2 separate regions of the Homo sapiens genome follow, and region 1 is linked to region 2. Evidence: promoter capture Hi-C in human tissues and cell types (Jung and others, 2019). All regions are on one chromosome and are shown on one strand. The core of a region is centred on a gene start or on the middle of the fragment in contact, and the rest is flanking DNA. Distances in the headings are between cores, read along the strand shown. Region 1 overlaps BACE2 (beta-secretase 2). Region 2 holds the start of BACE2 (beta-secretase 2).

What was found. Contacts are between HindIII fragments. The study calls those that stand out against the background at their distance.
Region 1: a contact is called between a fragment that was not itself captured here and the fragment with the promoter of BACE2 in region 2, in 1 of the 25 tissues and cell types used here (pancreas).

Annotation. Positions count from the first base shown.
Region 1 is chr21:41,204,380-41,207,198 of GRCh38, forward strand. The region is part of intron 1 of BACE2 (beta-secretase 2); the gene reads left to right. Among named protein-coding and RNA genes, the nearest start is that of PLAC4, 21 kb to the left of the region's middle. The HindIII fragment of the contact is 8,136 bases long and covers 1-2,819 here.
Region 2 is chr21:41,166,852-41,169,551 of GRCh38, forward strand. BACE2 (beta-secretase 2) reads left to right here and starts at 1,309. Exons shown (of 9, transcript NM_012105.5): 1 at 1,309-1,724. The coding sequence starts at 1,413. MIR3197 (microRNA 3197) reads left to right here and starts at 706; the gene lies at 706-778. RefSeq lists a silencer at 868-1,317. The HindIII fragment of the contact is 5,609 bases long and covers 1-2,700 here.

The sequences.
Region 1 (2,819 bases), core at 218-2,717, 38 kb after region 2:
GTCCCATGTATAATAAGCGGGAGTGATCCTGGGAGAGGGGGAAAAACTGATGATGCAGAAGAAAGGGAATTAGGGGCATGCTGTCCTGAGTGGGCACTGAGTGGGGTGGTCCAGTGCCCACGGAGAGGGGCTGGAGCTAGGACCATGGGTGGTACCTGTCTCCACTGCTGCTCCAGCAAACATATTTAACACTCACGTTCAAGGGCTGTCACACGTATGTTGAAGACTTTGCCAAGGTTAATATGTTGCAATTTTTTTCTCCAAGTCTTCTTCATTTTTCCTGTCTCTAGAATGTTCTGAAAGATTTCTTTATGACTTTTCTATACCATAATTAAAGCAAACGTCTGTATTTTGCTGGCCATAGAAGCCAAAGAGGGATGCATCTGTCATTTCTCTTCTGGGTTAGCATTCTTTCAAAATATCTGGACACCATAAAAATGTAGAGGTCAGTCAATAGAGATTTAATGCTTTCTTGTGAGAAATTCCCTTGGAAGGGCTTTAAGAAAGTCTTTTTAGAAGAGAATAATATCTTTGATCACTATATGCCTATTAAAATACTTTTTTTTTCTTGTGGGTTTACCATGGAAAAAAACATCAAAGCCTTATATGAGCCACATAGAAATAGCCTGTTTCTTAAATGGCTGGCCTGAAATTAGCGAAGGGTAGCAAATTGAACACAATGGTTTTTCTGTGTTGCGCATTCAGTTTGGGCTGATCAGATCCCATGCAAAAAGATTACTGTAAAACGAAGATGAAATTTTAGATTTTAAGAAGATTTCATTGTAAAGCTAGGTCACAGCATTCCACATTCAGGTGAGTACTAGGATTTGTAGATTATCAGTCATTATCATTAACATACTCACATACAATTGTCATTGTTGCTAAGAAGTGTTTGCACCTTTTCAACACTTAGAAATTAAGTCACATTTTCTGCTTTCAAAGCCCTTAACCTTAATCAATATTTTATAATGTGTTTTCATAGATGAGATACATTTGAGTTACCCCAGTTATAAGATGGTTACTCCTTGCAATTATTCTAGATATGAAGATTCATTTGGCTAAAATGTGGTAAAATTGCAAGGCCATTCAGCAGGTCAGTTTTAAATACAATATGATTATTATTCCGTCATCTTTGTGCGTGATTGAAAATAACAGATTGTGTGGTTGGCAATTCGCTTCCCCATTAGAAAATTTACCTTCCTACTTCTGTTGTGTCTTACATAGTATAATTATTCTGTTGCCTTGAAAAATATTATAATAAACAGAAGGGCTAATTTTTTTAAGCGTGTTGGGTGGCCGAGGAGAAATGAAATTTTGAGTGGAAAACCTCACATGAATTGTCTGTAGTTGCTTGTACTTCATCCCTCACCAGTGCAAAAGCCAATTCCACAGGAATTGAAAACTGTTATGAAAGAGAAGCCTGGTCTTCCGTCTTAACATCGGGTCATGAATTCAATGGGGAACACTGTATCTTCTTCATCTCTATGACTCAGGCACATAGTAGCTGCTCACTTAATATTTATTAGAAATAAATATTTACTGAAAAAATGAATCTCCCCCAAAGAACTGAAAGCAGGGTCTTGAAGAGATAGTCACACACCTGTGTTCACAGCAGCATCATTCACAATAGCAAAAGGTGGAAACAACACAAGTGTCTGTGGACAGTTGAATGGATAAACAAAATTCTGGTCTATACTTATGTTTTAGTTTGGGCTGCCCTAACAAAGTACCCTAGACTGAGTGGCTTATAAATAATGTCAATGTATTTCTCTTAGTTCTGGAGACTGGAAACCCAAGGTCCAGGTGCCAGCATGGTCAGGGTCCAACGAGGGCCACCTTCTGGGCTGCAGACTGCCTGCTCTTCATTGCATCTTCAGATGGCAGAAAGAGGGTGAGAGCTCCTCCGTCCTTTTTATAAGGGCACTAATCCCATCCATGAGGCTCCATCCTCATGACCTAATCACCTCCCAAAGGCCCTGCCTCCTAATAGCACCACCTTGGGGATTAGGATTGCAACAAAAGGCAGGGGATACAAACAATCAGGTCATAACAGCATATAATGGAATATTATTCAGCCTTAAAAAGGAAGACGGTTCTGGCACATGCTATAACATGGATGAACCTTGAAGACCTTATGCTATGTGATAGAAGACTGTTACAAAAGGACAAGCACTGGATGATTCCATTTATGTGAGGTTCCTGGAGAAGGCAAATTCATAGAGACAGAAACATTAAGGGTGGTGTCCGCAGGAATGGAGAGTGAGGAGTTGTTTAATGGGTAACGGGTTTCAGTTTTGTAAAATGAAGTGAGTTCCTCAGGTGGGTGATGATGATGGTTACACAACAATGTGAATGTACTTAACGCCATTGAACTTCACCTTTAGAAAGAACTAAGATGGTAAATTTTAAGTTATGTGTATTTACCACATTTTAGAAAAAATGAATGTTAATATCTAGAATAATTGCAAGGAGTAATCATCTTATAAATTGCAGTAACTTAAAAGTCTTGCCTGATGCTGCAGCAGGCGTATATGCCTTATCTCTTTCTTTTTTTATGTTTATTTAAAATTGTGACAAAATTTGAATGTTGGTAACTAGGGTAAAGTTAACGATGTTCTTTTTCTGTAAGTTCAGGTTTGGAGTGGGTCTTCAATTGCTGTCATCAACTCTTGAGCAAAAGAGAACATTTAGTGAAACTCCAGAAACATCTTGAGAACTAAGACATTACACCTTTGATAAGAATTTATTCACACTTCTTTAGAAAATGTGCAGGAAGAACTAATTTGTAGGTAAAATGACATGTCCTAAAATTTTGGGAA
Region 2 (2,700 bases), core at 59-2,558:
TCTATTCCTTGTTTCTGTAGAAATCGATGGACTTTAGCTTGTCTAATTGTCCCCCCTGCCTTTAGTATCTAAAATAAAATAACCCTCGTTGCTTGCATTACTCAACGCATTTCTGCGTCTTGGCGTCTATGGCTAAACGAGTATTAATTAGACAGTCCGCAGAGAGCTGGCTGGGGATAGAAGGGGAGGTGGGGGAGAAGGGCAGGGATCACAGCAGGGTGGACTCGTGGCCCTGATTTGGGATCCTGACAGCAACTTACTAGGTGGCCTGAGGGCTGGGTGCCAGGGGAGGCAGCGGGTTCCAGTAGCATCTGACCTGCATTAGGGACAGGGGCGCGGCGGAGGGGGCGAAGGGGGCGGGGGTGGGGGGAAGGTGGCTGGGGTGAAGCCCAGCTTCGCAGCTAGCTGTGGGCAACAGAGGGAGTAAGGGGGGGCAATGAGGCTGGGGCCAGGCGCCAGCAGCAGCCACGCCCCCCACCTCCCCCGATTTTTAGGGAAAATTCTCCAAAGCTCTCGCATCCTCCTCTGCCTCCTTCCACCCTCCACCCTCCCAGCCTCCACTGAGACCTCTTTAAAACCACCCAGGGGCCGCCGGGGGATGAGGCCGGGGAACGGGCTGGACTGAGGGCGGGGGCTCGGGGGCAGCGGACGGGAAACGCCTCGAAAGCAGCCAGACCCGGCGACTGAAATGAGGCGGAGGAGCTTGGCGAGGGGAGGCGCAGGCTCGGAAAGGCGCGCGAGGCTCCAGGCTCCTTCCCGATCCACCGCTCTCCTCGCTGACCTCCGAGTCACCCCCGGAAGCTCCCGCCACTGCCGGGCGAATAGACCCCCGCGGACCCCCAAGCGCGCGGGGCCGGGGCCCTAGTTCAGGCCCTCGCTGCCCCTTTAAGGGTTCTCGAAACTTTCCCCCCGGTATCAGATGAGCCTCGTCACATCCGTTGGCCGTGGCCGCTGGGGCGCTTTCCGAGGAAATTCGGGACTCGAGTTTCCCGGGGAAGAGGCGCGGCCTGAGCCCGGCGAGGGTGGGGAGGGCAGGCGCAGGTGGACCCCGGCGCCCCCCGAGCCCCGCTGTGACCTTGGCCGCGGGGGAGGGGCTGGGCCGCTGCGGGGCAGTCGCGGCCGCCAGAGGGGGCAGCGGAGAAGAACTTGCCCAACTTGGCGGCGCGGGCTGGGGCGGCTCTGCGCCTCCGCGCCCGCCTCCCCGGCCTCCGCCTTCTCCCCTCCCGCGAGCCTCCTCCCCTCCCGCGAGCCTCCTCCCCTGGGCCCTCCTCCCGTCCTCCCCGCCGCCGCCGGTCCCGGTGCGCGCCCATCCCTGCCCGCAGCCCCGCGCGCCGGCCGAGTCGCTGAGCCGCGGCTGCCGGACGGGACGGGACCGGCTAGGCTGGGCGCGCCCCCCGGGCCCCGCCGTGGGCATGGGCGCACTGGCCCGGGCGCTGCTGCTGCCTCTGCTGGCCCAGTGGCTCCTGCGCGCCGCCCCGGAGCTGGCCCCCGCGCCCTTCACGCTGCCCCTCCGGGTGGCCGCGGCCACGAACCGCGTAGTTGCGCCCACCCCGGGACCCGGGACCCCTGCCGAGCGCCACGCCGACGGCTTGGCGCTCGCCCTGGAGCCTGCCCTGGCGTCCCCCGCGGGCGCCGCCAACTTCTTGGCCATGGTAGACAACCTGCAGGGGGACTCTGGCCGCGGCTACTACCTGGAGATGCTGATCGGGACCCCCCCGCAGAAGGTAGGGACCCCCGGCTGCTGCCGCGGGCTTTTCGGGCTCGTTGGAGGGAGGGGGCTGTCCAGAGACGCCTCCACGCGGCTTAGCGTCGCCCCCAAAGCAGCAGCTGTCCCCGCACAGAAGAGCGGGGAACGCAGAGGGGCTCGGGTGGGCCGGGGAGCGGGGGCGCTCGCTCTTGAGTCGCGGAGGACGGCAGCCCCCGCCCGGGGCGCACTGAGGGGTGTGCGCGAGTGTTTCAGAACTTGTGAGCTCCCCCTCCGCGGGGCTGGGCGGGAGAGGAGACCTGGAACTTGCCGCCTCCAATAACGTGATTTCCTTCTTGCGGGCGACACCTACTTCCAGCGGGAGACGGAGCGGTGGGCCTTGGGCGACGGGCTATTATGGGGAAAATCACCTCGTGTTCATACCCTCCCTCCCCCCCGCCCCCCCCCCACCCCACCACCATGCTGTCTCATTGCTAAAGAGGCTCGTGGCCGGCTTCCAAAGGCGCAGTACCCTTTAAAAAGGATTTATGCATGAGCTCAGCTAAAAGCAACCCGGTTAAGAAGTGGCTCGCTTGCTGCTCTGAGGAAGGAGCAGCGTCTCCCCTGCGCCCGCTTTCCTTTCTCGGAGTTGGTTTGTCAGCTGTGTCCTCGCTCATCCGGCGGCCCTGCCCCTCTGCACGGAGCGATGCATCTACACGCGGGTGTGCAGAGTGTGAAAAGCATTCCAGCTACCGGGAAAAAAACAGGGGCTGAGTGAGGTGTCCGGGGACCAAGTGGTATCCCGATTACAACACAAAAATAAAATCAAACAGCTTTCCTTTTCTCTTACTCTGATGTTCATTTACTAACACTTTTTGTAGCAAGAAACAAATGTTCCCAAGCACAGTGATCTGAAAAAAAAAAAAAAAAAATCCCAATTGATCTGCCCCCTCCTACTTTCAAACTGTCTAATCCAAGTGGGATTTGAAGTCCTTTGCTCAATTGAATGCACTATT